Regions from separate parts of the Homo sapiens genome. Here all the other regions are linked to region 4. Evidence: promoter capture Hi-C in 16 types of primary human blood cells and fetal thymus (Javierre and others, 2016). All regions are on one chromosome and are shown on one strand. The core of a region is centred on a gene start or on the middle of the fragment in contact, and the rest is flanking DNA. Distances in the headings are between cores, read along the strand shown. Region 1 holds the start of LRRC23 (leucine rich repeat containing 23). Region 2 overlaps LOC105369632 (a long non-coding RNA gene). Region 3 has its middle 14 kb from the start of PLEKHG6. Region 4 holds the start of NOP2 (NOP2 nucleolar protein). Region 5 holds the start of GNB3 (G protein subunit beta 3).

The links. The method cuts DNA at HindIII sites, captures the fragments that hold promoters and counts their contacts. A CHiCAGO score of 5 or more calls a contact.
Region 1: a contact is called between the fragment with the promoter of LRRC23 here and the fragment with the promoter of NOP2 in region 4, in 10 of 17 cell types (non-activated CD4 T cells, activated CD4 T cells, naive CD4 T cells and 7 more). The highest score is 12.8, in non-activated CD4 T cells.
Region 2: a contact is called between a fragment that was not itself captured here and the fragment with the promoter of NOP2 in region 4, in 3 of 17 cell types (activated CD4 T cells, non-activated CD4 T cells and naive CD4 T cells). The highest score is 8.9, in activated CD4 T cells.
Region 3: a fragment that was not itself captured here is called in contact with the fragment with the promoter of NOP2 in region 4 in 1 of 17 cell types (non-activated CD4 T cells); the score reaches 6.1 in non-activated CD4 T cells.
Region 5: the fragment with the promoter of GNB3 here is called in contact with the fragment with the promoter of NOP2 in region 4 in 14 of 17 cell types (naive CD4 T cells, activated CD4 T cells, total CD4 T cells and 11 more); the score reaches 24.0 in naive CD4 T cells.

The regions. Positions count from the first base shown.
Region 1 is chr12:6,903,372-6,906,071 of GRCh38, forward strand. LRRC23 (leucine rich repeat containing 23) reads left to right here and starts at 1,451. Exons shown (of 8, transcript NM_001135217.2): 1 at 1,451-1,704; 2 at 2,214-2,388; 3 at 2,474-2,583. The coding sequence starts at 2,263. The HindIII fragment of the contact is 20,869 bases long and covers 1-2,700 here.
Region 2 is chr12:6,884,186-6,886,885 of GRCh38, forward strand. The region is part of intron 1 of LOC105369632 (a long non-coding RNA gene); the gene reads right to left. It also overlaps the pseudogene RPL13P5 and the pseudogene DSTNP2. Among named protein-coding and RNA genes, the nearest start is that of SPSB2, 12 kb to the left of the region's middle. RefSeq lists enhancers at 1-322, 1,969-2,516. The HindIII fragment of the contact is 559 bases long and covers 972-1,530 here.
Region 3 is chr12:6,295,817-6,298,516 of GRCh38, forward strand. No RefSeq gene overlaps it. Among named protein-coding and RNA genes, the nearest start is that of PLEKHG6, 14 kb to the right of the region's middle. RefSeq lists an enhancer at 1-337. The HindIII fragment of the contact is 3,241 bases long and covers 1-2,700 here.
Region 4 is chr12:6,567,021-6,569,734 of GRCh38, forward strand. It overlaps NOP2 (NOP2 nucleolar protein), which reads right to left and starts at 1,271. Exons shown (of 16, transcript NM_001258308.2): 1 at 1,187-1,271; 2 at 796-902. The coding sequence starts at 898. It overlaps CHD4-AS1 (CHD4 antisense RNA 1), which reads left to right and starts at 1,351. Exons shown (of 3, transcript NR_199067.1): 1 at 1,351-2,510. RefSeq lists enhancers at 1,121-1,742, 1,566-1,615. The HindIII fragment of the contact is 18,468 bases long and covers 1-2,714 here.
Region 5 is chr12:6,839,602-6,842,350 of GRCh38, forward strand. It overlaps GNB3 (G protein subunit beta 3), which reads left to right and starts at 1,324. Exons shown (of 10, transcript NM_002075.4): 1 at 1,324-1,432; 2 at 1,657-1,743; 3 at 1,985-2,023. The coding sequence starts at 1,687. It overlaps P3H3 (prolyl 3-hydroxylase 3), which reads left to right. Exons shown (of 15, transcript NM_014262.5): 15 at 1-246. The HindIII fragment of the contact is 12,557 bases long and covers 1-2,749 here.

The DNA.
Region 1 (2,700 bases), core at 201-2,700, 340 kb after region 4:
GTGTCTTCCTCTTTCTTCTTGGCCAAGGAAACTCATATCCATTTCTTTTGACTACATCAAACCACATGGATTTTTCCCTTCTCCACACTCCAACAATACAATAACTTTCATTTGTATAGCACATCTCACTCTTCAGAGTGTTCATATTTATTATTTCTTTTTCCTCACAGCAACCCCAGTACCAAGGACACAGGCCAGGGGTGGGGAGGAGCAGGAAAATGTTTACTAAGGGTCAACTAAGTGCAAGGCGATTTACCCACATTATCTCTTTTAATCCCTTAACAATCCTTACAGGTGGACGTTTTAATAATCCCCATTTCACGACTGTGGAAATTAGACCTCAGTAAGATTTCATAACCTGCTGAAGGACACACAGGTATTAAGTAGTAGAGATGGGTTTTGAAGCTGGTGTCTCTGACTTTAAAGTCCCTACTGGTTCCATGACACCAAGTAAACAGATTTGCCTATTAACCACATTCCTCCAAGCTGCCCTGGGCAGGAGGTAATATAATACTTCCTGATTTCTTGCCCACCACATCTTCCACCAGACCACTTTGCCGTTATATAAAGTCTGTGGGCACAATTTAACAATGAATCACATGCCATCTTACCTGGTTACCTCATTGTTTCATTTACATTAGATTCCACAACAAGATTGGTAACATCCCCCTTTCCCCAGGCAGGAATTGTGTCATCTTAACCTCCCTGAGCCTCAGTATCCTCTTCTTTCAAATGTCTATCTTACAGGACTGTTGCAGAGATTAAATATCAGTTGTAAAGATGTTTGACATAATGTCTCGCACAAACTCTCCAGAAATATTTATTGCATCTCAACATCTTTTTCATCTCCTTCAACATGTCAGACAGGCCTGAGTGCCTGGGTTTGGCTATGCCAGTTCCTGTTGATTACTGATATAACAACGTTGGATCAGGAGTATTTTAGTGGGCAGATGTTGAATTTTCTGCCTTCCACCCACTAAAAGGTTTGCATCAAACCAGTCCAGGATAACTCATACTGGATCCCTGTCAGTTGATATAGTTAAGCTAATTCTACAGATAACAAAGAGTCTTGGGTACGTTTAGCTAGCAAATGCAGATCTGCCAAGACTCCAACCCAGTTCTTAAGGTATCTGGGTCTGGACTCCTTCCGCTCCACCAAGCCACCTTCCAAAGGTCTACCTGAAAATAACTAATGAGCAGAAACTATAGGGGGAAGGGGAAAAGACCCCTTATCTTGGTGTTTCTTGCTTTTCCTCGCAGCCCCGCCCTTTTTGCTTCGAAGGACGAGTTTTTCCTGAATTCACAATACTTTTGCATTGAAGATGTCCGGTCCCTTTAAGGTCTTGGGTGACGTAATGACTAGCCCCGCCCCCTCTCTTCTCGCTTCTCAGCCCTGCCCACTTCTTTTTGTCCTCAGCCAATTAGCGGCCCAACGCCCCTTCCGCGCCTCATCCGGGTTCCCGGGACGGGAAAGTGGCGTGGTAACCAGGCAACTACTGATCAATCCCCTCCCCGGCTGATTTGCGCATCAGGTAGTCGCCGCTCTACTCTCAACGGTGGCGAGCTGCAGTTGCCAAGTGCCCCGTCCCCGTTGCCATAACAGCAGTACACAACCCCTCCTTCCCCTCGCCCGCTTGCTAAACAGTCCTTCCCTCTCGGGACCAAGGGCCTCTCCAGAACTGCTTCTGATTGAGCAGAAACAGGGTCTGAGCCCCTTTGCTAAGGCGAATTGAGTGGGAGGGTTGGAGACTGCGCTTTAGGCTGGTGTACCAGAGGGCCCAAGGAAATTGGCCCAGTGGGGAGGGAAAAGTAGAAGAAATGAATGGAGCAGGGATTACGGATGGCGCAATGGGAGCTGAGAGGAGAGGAGGAGGAATTGGTAGGGAAGATTGGAGAGCATGGCTTAAGGGGGAGGTGGGAAGAATGGGGGAGAGGGAAGCCCAGGAAATAGGGACACCCGGCTGCTGGAGGAGAGCTGGAGTCACTGTGAAGGACAGGAAAGGCCTGGGGGTGTGGGTGACATCCTGAAGGGAGGGGGTCCTCAGTGGAAAGTGTGAAGTGGGAGTTGAGAATCAAAATGAGATGTTCACAGGGATAAGGAAAGAAGCCTAGAGTTGGTGGGTCAGAAGTCATGGGGGTGATGGGAGTGGCACGTGTCAATGACGATGAAGGAGCTGAAGGCTGGCAGAAGCTGATGAGACCTTCTTTTTCAGGAGGAGGACTGAGCTTATCTGACTCCAGAGCTTTCAGGAGGGAAGAAAGATGTCAGATGAAGATGATCTAGAAGACTCTGAGCCAGACCAGGATGATTCTGAGAAAGAAGAGGACGAGAAGGAGACAGAGGAGGGGGAGGACTACAGAAAAGAGGGGGAAGAGTTCCCTGAGGAAGTGAGAGCCTGGACAAGGAGGGGTCCTAGGGCTGAAGGAGGGGGTTGGGCAGGGGAGAGACACCTTACTCCACTTCTACCTGCAGTGGCTGCCCACCCCCCTCACGGAGGACATGATGAAGGAAGGGCTTTCTCTGCTCTGTAAGACAGGCAATGGGCTGGCTCATGCTTATGTCAAGCTGGAGGTTAAAGAGAGGTGCGTTTTGGGGGGACCAGATGAGGACTGTGAGACTGTAGGGCCCCTATCTCCTTTCCCACTGTCATTCCTGGGTGTTCTGGTTGAGAGTTTGACTCTTCTCATGCCTAGTGGAAA
Region 2 (2,700 bases), core at 1-2,500, 320 kb after region 4:
TACAAAGCACAAGCTGGCAGGGGCCTCAGCTTGGAGGAGTTAAGGGTGGCTGGCATTTACAAGAAGGTGGCCCAGACCATTGGCATCTCTGAGGATGCAAGGAGGAGGAACCAGTCCACCCAGGCCCTGCAGGCCAAGGTGCAGAGGCTGAAGGAGGACCGCTCCTCACTCATCCTCTTCCCCAGGAAGCCCTTGGCCCCCAAGAAGGGAGACAGTTCTGCTGAAGAACTCGAACTGGATACTCAGCTGACAGGACCAGAAATGCCCATCGGCAATGTCTACAAGGAGAAAGCCAGAGTCATCGCTGACTAGGAGGAAAACTTCCAGGCCTTGTTAGTCTCTGTATGGCCCATGCAAATGCCCAGCTCTTCGGCATATAGGCACAAAGAGCCAAGGAAGCTGTAGAAGAGGACGCTTAAAAAAAAAAAAAACGGGTAGGCTCGAGCCGCTGCATCAGCTTCGCGCTGGGTCTCTCGGTCCCGCAGCCATGAGGAGGACGCTGCCCAGACTCACTACCCGCCCTCTCAGTCCCGCAGCCACGAGGAGGACGCTGCCCAGACTCACTACCCGCCGGCTCCCTCCCCCGCGTCCCTGTGGTGGTGGGCGAAGATGACCTGTTGTGCATCAGATGCCTTTGAGACATACAACTGGAGATGTGAGATAGGAAATTGAATGTAAAGACTGGAAGCTCGGCAGAGCAGAACTCTGAACAACGTGCCTCAGGAGTGCAAGTTGCTGATGAAGTGTGTCGCATTTTTTATGACATGAGAGTTCGTAAATGCTCCACACCAGAAGAAATCAAGAAAAGAACAAAGGCTGTCATTTTTTTGTCTCAGTGCAGACAAAAAGTGCATCATGTAGAAGGCAAAGAGATCTTGGTTGGAGATGTTGGTGTAACTATAAGTGAGCCTTTCAAGCATTTTGTGGGAATGCTTCCTGAAAAAGATTGTTGCTATGCTTTGTATGATGCAAGCTTTGAAACAAAAGAATCCAGAAGAATTGATGTTTTCTTGTGGGCATCAGAACTAGCACCTTTGAAAAGTAAAATGATCTATACAAGCTCCAAGGATGCAATCAAAAAGAAATTTCAAGGCATAAAACATGAATGGCAAACAAACGGACCAGAAGATCTCAATCGGGCTTGTACTGCTGAAAAGTTAGGTGGATCCTTTTTTTTTTTTTTTGAGATGGAGTCTTGATCTGTCGCCCAGGCTGGAGTGCAGTGACAGGATCTCGGCTCACTGCAACCTCTGCCTCCCGGGTTCAAGTGATTTTCCTGCCCAGCCTCCTGAGTAGCTGGGATTATAGCGTGCGCCACCACACCTGGCTAATTTTTGTATTCTTAGTAGAGTCAGGGTTTCACCATATTGGTCAGGCTGGTCTCGAACTCCTGACCTCGTGATTTGCCCTCCTTGGCCTCCCAAAGTGCTGGGATTACAGGCGTGAGCCAGCATGCCTGGCCAGTGGATCCTTAATTGTAGCCTTTGAAGGATGCCCTGTGTAGATCATCATTCAGTGCCACAAATTGAAAGCTTCCACGTTTAATGTTATCCTCTTGCTATATAAATAAAGCAAATATATTTAGGCCAGGGTCTCACTGAGGGGAGCTGTCTTGTCATCTTTTAGAGTAAACTAAATACTCTATAAACATATGCAAACAGCCCTAAATATATCTGTAGGGGTGGGTTGCCCCTCCACACCTGTGGGTGTTTCTCGTAAGGTGGGACGAGAGACTTGGGAAAGAAAAAGACACAAAGTATAGAGAAAGAAATAAGGGGACCCGGGGAAGCAGCGTTCAGCATATGGAGGATCCTGCCAGCCTCTGAGTTCCCTTAGTATTTATTAATCATTTGTGGGTGTTTCTCGAAGAGGGGGATGTGTCAGGGTCACAAGACAATTGTGGGGAGAGGGTCAGCAGACAAACACGTGAACAAAGGTCTTTGCATCATAGACAATGTAAAGGATTAAGTGCTGTGCTTTTAGATATGCATACACATAAACATCTCAATGCTTTACAAAGCAGTATTGCTGCCCGCAGGTCCCACCTCCAGCCCTAAGGCGGTTTTTCCCTATCTCAGTAGATGGAGCATACAATCGGGTTTTATACCAAGACATTCCATTGCCCAGGGACAGGCAGGTGACAGATGCCTTCCTCTTGTCTCAACTGCAAGAGGCATTCCTTCCTCTTTTACTAATCCTCCTCAGCACAGAACCTTTACGGGTGTCGGGATGGGGGATGGTCAGGTCTTTCCCTTCCCACGAGGCCATATTTCAGACTATCATATGGGGAGAAACCTTGGACAATACCTGGCTTTCCTAGGCAGAGGTCCCTGCGGACTTCCGCAGTGTTTGTGTCCCTGGGTACTTGAGATTAGGGAGTGGTGATGACTCTTAAGGAGCATGCTGCCTTCAAGCATCTGTTTAACAAAGCACATCTTGCACCGCCCTTAATCCATTTAACTCTGAGTTGACACAGCACATGTTTCAGAGAGCACGGGGTTGGGGGTAAGGTTATAGATTAACAGAATCTCAAGGCAGAAGAATTTTTCTTAGTACAGAACAAAATGGAGTCTCCTATGTCTACTTCTTTCTACACAGACACAGTAACAATCTGATCTCTTTTGCTTTTCCCCACATATATCTAAAGTCTAAAGTTGTTTTTTTAAAAAAAAAAAAGAAAAGAAAAGAAAAGAAAAAAGA
Region 3 (2,700 bases), core at 111-2,610, 270 kb before region 4:
ACTTGAGGTCAGGAGTTCAAGACCAGCCTGGCCAACATGGTGAAACCCTGTCTCTACTAAAAATACAAAAATTAGCTGGGCGTGGTGGCAGGCGCCTGTAATCCCAGCCACTCGGGAGGCTGAGGCAGGAGAATTGCTTGAACCCAGGAGGCGGAGGTTACAGTGAGCCGAGATCTCACCACCGCACTTCAGCCTGGGTGGGAGAGTGAGACCCCAGAAAAGATGAGATCTTATTTCTCCCTCACATAGTCTGAAGACGGAGCACTTTCCATGGAGTGCTGATGAAGTGCCAGGGTCCTAGGCTCCTTCTGGTGTGCCACCCCTCGGACAAGTCTCTCAGCCTCAAGGTCCAGGATGGCAACATCTGTCCAAACAGCAAGATGGAGAACAGGACAGGATAGGAACGAAGTAGGAGAGGGGCCAAGGACTCATGCTGGCATCCCGCCAGCCTTTTGACACGAGTCACCCTTCCGCCACTTTATAAAAAAAGGTAGGCCTCTTATCAGTGGTAGGCAATAGCAGGGTAGTGAAAACCGTTTCCCCACCACCGCCAAGGCAGGGAATAGAGGCTGCATTGTCCTTAGAGAATTGTAAATGAGTAAGCAACCGAAAGTTCTTTGTTATCCCCTGGGCCAGCAATCCTAAACAATGTCAGTGATAAAACATTCCTCCCTGAAAAAGTATTTTATTGGTCTAAGTTCTAAATCTAAATAAATGCTGTCATTACCACTGAGTTTTAATTATATGTGAACTTCGGCCGGGCACAGTGGCTCACGCCTGTAATCCCAGCACTTTGGGAGGCCAAGGCAGGTGGATCACCCGAGGTTAAGAGTTCGAGACCAGCCTGGCCAACATGGTGAAACCCCATCTCTACTAAAAATACAAAAATTAGCCAGGCATGGTAGTGCACGCCTGTAATCTCAGCTACTCAGGAGGCTGAGGCAGGAGAATCACTTGAACCTAGGAGGCAGAGGTTTCAGTGAGCCGAGATTAGGCCACTGCACTCCAGCCTGGGTGACAGAGTGAGACTCCATCTCAAAAATAAATAAATAAATAAATAAAATGTGAACTTCAATTTAACTTGTTTTTATAACTTAGCATTTAAATAACATTATCGGCCGGGCAAGGTGGCTCACGCTTGTAATCCCAGCACTCTGGGAGGCCGAGGCAGGTGGATCATGAGGTCAGGAGATGGAGACCATCCTAACACGGTGAAACCCCATCTCTACTAAAAATACAAAAAATTAGCCGGGCGTGGTGGCGGGCGCCTGTAATCCCAGCTACTCGGGAGGCTGAGGCAGGAGAATGGCGTGAACCCGGGAGGCGGAGCTTGCAGTGAGCCGAGATCGCGCCACTGCACTCCAGCCTGGGCGACAGAGTGAGACTCAGTCTCAAAAAAAAAAAAAAAAAAAAAAAGATAAATAACATTATCTCCTATGCAGAAATGAAAGCTGAAAACTCGTTATTCAGTGGGCCCCCGACACCCGCAGACTCAGCTCCATGTGTTTCTTACTTCTGGCTGGTCAGTGCCTCCGTTCGTGTGGAGCTGCTATGGAAGCAGGAGCTTGGGAGAGCCAGAGTGACACCATTTTACACTCAACTCCATCTTTTTGTTTTGTTTTGTTTTTTAATTTAGAGATAGGGTCTCCCCGTGTTGCCCGGCTGGTCTCAACTCCTGGTCTTAAGTAATCCTCCCGACTCGGCCTCCCAAAGTGCTGAGATTATAGGTATGAGCCACAGCACCTGGCCAATCAACTCCCATCTTAAAACTAGAAAGGCACACACACACAAAAAGCTAGAAAGGCACACTCCTTGCTGGTCACAGCCTATAGTCATGGTGTGTTTACAGTTGAGGAAACAGTCTAAAGATGCCTACAAAGACACCCTCCGACAACAATGGAGAGTCCACATGTCCCGATACTCGTATCAACATATGCTCTGAAGATAATCATAGTTACACCTTGATGTATTAATACTTACACACTAAAACGTCAAGGACAGTTTTCTTTAAATCAACAGAGTAATAAACTCTCTCATGCAGTCTGCTCACCCACATGTAGAAACAGCTTAGTTTAACCTTTACATCGACAAGACCCCTATACGAGAAAAACTTAAAACAAAGCCGGGGCAGTCCTCTGCTGGCTTTCTGAGGACGCCCTCCTGTGTAACAGGATAGCTTTCAATAAACTTTCTTCTTACTGCACTCTGTGACTCGCCTTGAGTTATTTCCTGCACGAGATCCAAGAACCCTCTGGGCTCTGGATCAAGACCCTTTTTTCCACTAACAGAACCACGTTATCTCTGCCTTTCAAAGGTAGATTCAAAAGACACAATGATAGTGCCCTGATTGCAAAGACAAAGGAATAACTTGAGTTATTTTTCTCTTATCTACTTGGACTTTGTATTTGTGTTAAAAATTCAAAACAGTGAAAAGGAGGCCGGGTGTGGTGGCTCACACCTGTAATCCCAGCACTTTGGGAGGCCACGGTGGGAGGATCACTTGAGGCCAAGAGTTCAAGACCTGCCTGGCCCACATGGCGAAACCCTGTCTGTACTAAAAATACAAAAATTAGCTGGGCATGGTGGCGCACGCATGTAATCCCAGCTACTCGGGAGGCTGAGGCATGAGACCTACTTGAACCCAGGAGGCGGAGGTTTCAGTGATCAAAAAAAAAAAAAAGCAGTGAGATAGAAGGCAAA
Region 4 (2,714 bases), core at 21-2,520:
TGGAGTGCAATGGCGTGATCTCAACTCACTGCAACCTCCTTCTCCCAGATTCAAGCGATTCTATTGCCTCAGCCTCCCATCACCACACCCAGCTAATTGTTGTATTTTTAGTAAAGACAGGGTTTCACCATGTTGGCCAGGCTGGTCTCGAACACTGGACCTCAGGTGATCCACCTGCCTCGGCCTCCCAAAGTGTTTCCTTAATAGTGCCTCTCTCACAGGACTCTAAGATGATTAAGCGATATAACATGACCAACAAGTTTAATACAGTGCCCAGGACTTCCTACTATCTCAATAAACTGCATCCTTTATCCAATGCCCAACACAAACTCCCGGTCCAGTGTTACCTCCCACCAGTCTTCCACACAGTATACTACTACTCGGCATGAAGCAGCCAGATCCGTGCTTTTCCATTTCCACCCCTTCCAAAAGGCAAATCAGTGACTGACCCCTCCCCTTCACTACTTCCTCTTGCTACAATGTTACCCATTTTTCAAAACCCAGCTTAACAAAAACTTTTACAGTTCTGCATGGGCTCCCCCTTCCTCTGAACTCACAATTGTTTTAAATCACACTTTTCCCTTGCATGAATAATAGTTGTGTCCGTGTCTTCACATCTCTACGACCTAAACAGTTCCCTACAATCTAAACGGCTGTTTCATTCATACCTCCTAGTAACTCATACAGAGAAGATTCCACTTAAATATAAAATGAACAGAAACTAAAAAAGAGAAGAGGTTATAATACAGAATACTGCAAAAGCTGAGGGATCAGGAGGCCACAACTAATCCTTACCTGCAGGCAAGAATCTGACGAGTTCTGTCTCGGCACCCTTCTGCTTCCGGGCCTTTCGGCCTGGCCCCCGCTTCTCCTTCGTAGGGTCCAACTTGCGCCCCATGGTACTGTGGCAGGCAGAAATGGGAGAAGGTGGCGTCGCGCGTGTCGGAGGGAACGGCAGAACGCACGCTTGGCGTATTATAGTGGGAAAGGGCACAGCCTCAACTCAGCACCCGCAACTCACTCAGCACTCCCGACTCAGCACCCGCGACTCAAGCACCCCCGCTATCCCCCTGGAGGCCCGACCGAACGCCCTCCCACCTGAAACCCAGGTAGCGCACCCTTCTCCCCACGTCCCAGACCAGGTCAGTGCTGCCACTCTTCGTCCCCCAATTTCCTCTAGACCCACCAGAATGCGGGTTAATGTCCGAGAGTGCCCTTCGGGCGGCCCTCCACGTGCAATCCGGACCTAGCTTTCGGCCGGCACTCGCCACAGAATCGTTCCACGCAGGCGCACGGGTAGCGCTAGCCTCGCGGCCCCGCCTCTTCCTGTTGCGCCTAGTCGGCCGCCGCACCCGGAACTTACGCTCGCCCTGGGAACGCCAGCGGAGCCGGCGGCGGCGAGTAGGGGGCAATTCGAAGGAGACGCGCAGCTTACACCCGCGGCGGGTGGAGGGAGCAATGTGACGAAACCATTGAGCTTGACCGACCTTCCCTCATGGAGTTGGCTTTTAGCCTCACGGCCGGTTTCTGTTGGGTGAAAGCCGCACCTTCTCCTCGAACCAGGGCCCGACATTGGAGCCCTCTCCCTCGCATCCACTGCCCTAGTCCAGCGTCAAGATCACGGAATTCCAGGCTGGGCGCAGTGGCTCACGCCTGTAATCCCAGCACTTTGGGAGGCTGAGGTGGGTGGATCACTTGAGGTCAGGAGTTCGAGACCAGCCTGGCCAATATGGTGAAACCCTGCTTCTACTAAAAATACAAAATTAGCCGGGCGTGGTGGCGGGCGCCTATAATCCCAGCTACTCGAGAGGCTGAGGCAGAATTGCTTGAGCCCGGGAGGCGGAGGTTGCAGTAAGCCGAGATCGTGCCACTTAAGCCTCACCAAGAGCGAAACTCCACCTCAAAAAAAAAAAACAAAAAAACCAGCCGGGCTCGGTGGCTCACGCCTGTAATCCCAGCACTTTGGGAGGTCGAGGCGGGCGGATCACGAGGTCAAGAAATCCGAGACCATCTTGGCCAACCTTGTCTCTATTAAAAATACAAAAATTAGTTGGGCATGGTGGCTGGCGCACGCGTGTAGTCCCAGCTACTCGGGAGGCTGAGGCAGGAGAATCGCTTGAACCCGGGAGGGGGAGGTTGCAGTGAGCTGAGATCGCGCCACTGTACTCCAGCCTGGCAACAAAGCGAGACTCCATCTCAAAACAAACAAACAAAAAAAACCGTGGAATTCCATGCCACTTACCTCCTCCTCTTTGCCCCTTTTTTAAAAATCTTTTTATAGAGACGGGTTGTAGGGGGTGGCGTCTCACTATATTGCCAGGGCTGGTCTAGAACTCCTGGGCTTAAGCGATCCTCCTGCCCCCACCTTTGTGCTGAGATTACAGGCTGTGAGCCACCGTGCCCCGCCCTCCCAGCACCTTCCTTGATGCTGACCCCTGCTCAGCCCCTCAATTAAGGTGCTGCACTGCACCTCATTCGCAGGGGGCCTCTTCGCCGGAACTCGCTTTCAGGTGGGTCTACAATTAGTTGGGAAACAACGGGTTGCAAGGCTGACCTGGTCTGGGACATGAGAAGGGGTGAACTACAAGGGTTTCAAGGTTGGAGGACGTTAGGTCGGGCCTCCGGGGGTGTGGGATTGAGGCTGTGTTCTTCCACAAATTGCATCCCAATTTTGCACAACTTAGCAAGAAAACCCCCCTCAGCCTTCCTAGAAA
Region 5 (2,749 bases), core at 74-2,573, 270 kb after region 4:
ACCTACAAGGGCCTGGACTCAGAGGACAGTGCACAGGCTAGCCTGGAGCTCACCAGGCCTGGGGAGCTGGGACGGGGCCCCGCTGCCGGACCTGCAGCCCTGGACAGATGGGGAACACTGTGCCTCCCTGAACAGAAATGGCAGGGGAGGAGGCTGATGCTTTAAATGAAGAGGATGGTGGGGTTGGGAGGTATAACCCTGCTCCTCTCTCCCAGTCTGTGCAATAAAGGTCGTGAAGATCTCTCAGCCAGGGGCCAGTCAAGTGTATCACAGATTCTGTGATGGCTGGAGGTGGGGGTGGCTCTGGCTGGCCTGGGAGGAGACAGGTGTCTTTGGGCCTCCCAGAGGCGGGGCGCCTGGAGCCTGTGATTTGTCAGGGAAATCTCAGCCACCTGCTCCCCTCATGCAAATGACCCAAGCCCCTGGCAGCTGCTCCTTAGGCCTCCAAGTGTAAGCCCTGTCTTCCCTCTCTGAGCTTTGCTGAGACTTAGGGCCGCCTGCTTTCTCTCTGACCCCTGCTTTCACAGCCTCGAGAGGGCAAGGAGGGGGCCAGACCCCAGCCTGGGAGCAGCGTGCGGGCCTTCCCTCCACTTGAAATCCGTTGCCCGCCCACAATAGGGGCAGACCTGTCCATCCTTCTCTGTGGGTCCCCTGTACCTTTCTCCCCCAACAGGATCAGACCCAGAGGCAGCTGGTTGGGGTTTGTCGAGAAGAAGGATTATCCAGATCAGTCCTTTCTAATCTCAGCTCCTGCCTGTACCCTCCCATACTCACCAAACCCTCTTCCCCACCACCCTGAGCTGAGGAGCACAGTTTGAGGTACTGACAATGGGGCCATCTATCACCCTTATATCCCACCTCCTGGCCTGGTTGCTAAGTGGCCCTGACTGCCAAGATCATCACCATGGATGGGGGCCGGGACCAGGGGGGCCACTGGAGCTGTAGTTGTCTGCTCCTTTGCACCCCTCCCAAACCCCAACCCTTAATCCTCACAGCTTTGCTCTAATCCTGTGGGGCCTGATGCTCTTATCTCTGCCTGCAGAGACTGACCAGGGAAGCACCCCTTCACCCCCTCCTCTCTCAGGGCTTGTGGTGGGGGCTGCCCCTCTCTATGGCCCCACACTCCTGCCCCCAACCCTCCTCCCGGCTGGGCCCAAGTCTCTCTGGAATCCGTACACCTCCCTCCCTCCCCCCACCCCTTCCCCCCACCCCTGCCAGCTGATTTCATTTGCCTGACGTTGTGGTTGGCTCTACCCTTCCCTGTCAGGCCCCCCCAACCCCCCGCCGGTCGGGGCCAGGCCAGGCCAGGCCAGCTCCTCTGGCAGCAGAGCCTGGGCAGGTGACGGGCGGGCGCGGGCGTCGCAGCTGAGGGAGTAAGGAGGCTCCCAGGAACCGGAGCTGGAAACCCGGCCGAGGTCCAGCCAGAGCCCAAGTAAGAGGGAGCTGGCCTGGGCTCTGCTCTCCTGGGCTGGGGCGCAGGCAGGGCTCAGGCAGGCTGGGGCTGGACGCAAAGGACCTCAAACTTGGAGGGCCTAGCTGGGGAGAGGGTGCAGCCACCCAGTCGTTTCCCTGTGTCTTGGAGTCTGGTGTGGGCACGAAGGGCAGAAGCACAGCCTGGTGGGGGGTTCCTCAACACCGACCCCATGTTCCTGGCAGGAGCCAGAGTGACCCCTCGACCTGTCAGCCATGGGGGAGATGGAGCAACTGCGTCAGGAAGCGGAGCAGCTCAAGAAGCAGATTGCAGTAACTCCAGAGCCCTACCCCTGGGGCCCCAGAAAACAGCTGGGGACATGAGGAGCGTGGCCCAGGGGGAGGGGGCTGGGTTTGCTCTTGAGTGACTAGAAGTGACCAGGGACTTTCTAAACTTGGTTCGCATATTTGAGACCCCCAAGCCCCAGAGCCCCAAGACCAACCTGCCCTGAAGGCCCATGCACCTGCCACCCCCACCTCGCCCTTGCTCCCCTGATGTCTGCTTTCCCTGCAGGATGCCAGGAAAGCCTGTGCTGACGTTACTCTGGCAGAGGTAAGACCCCCTGTCCCCCGGAAGGCAGGGCATGGGGGGAGGGGAAGGGAGCTCCCCGACCCGCAATAGCGCGTTGCTCCGAGCATTAGTACAGCACGTCCTTGGAGTGAGGAAACCCATTAATTAATTCATTCGACCAACATTTTAGCGGGACCTGCTCTGAGCCAGGCACCATATTGGATGCGAAAGATGCGGACACGGTTCCTATTCTCATCCGTAGAACAAGAGTGACCACAGCCCCCTCCCAGGGCCTTGAAGATGAAGAAGCGATAGTACTTTGTAAATTATAAAGCCCTTGTAGACTCTAGCTGCTAGTTTTCTATGCTGTATTTTGTCAATTCTAAGATGCACATTTCTTCACATTTTGACATCTCTGAAATCAAGGTGCATTCAGCAATGGATCATTGTTTCAATTAGAATTGACAGCATCTTTTCTTTCTTAGTGATGCATCTTAGATTGGATTAAATATGTTAATAGTGAACACTTTTTATGAGCCAGATACTGGGCTAAGCTGCATAAATACCTGATTTCATTGAATTTTCATGATATCTCTGTAAGGTAGGTGCTATGATAAGCCTCATTTTACACCTTGAGTAAACAGACTCAGGGAGGTGAAGCAACTTGCCCAAGATAACAAAGCAGGCCGGGCGCAGTGGTTCACGCCTGTAATCCCAGCCCTTTGGGAGACTGACGTGAAAGGATCACTTGAGCTCAGGAGTTTGAGA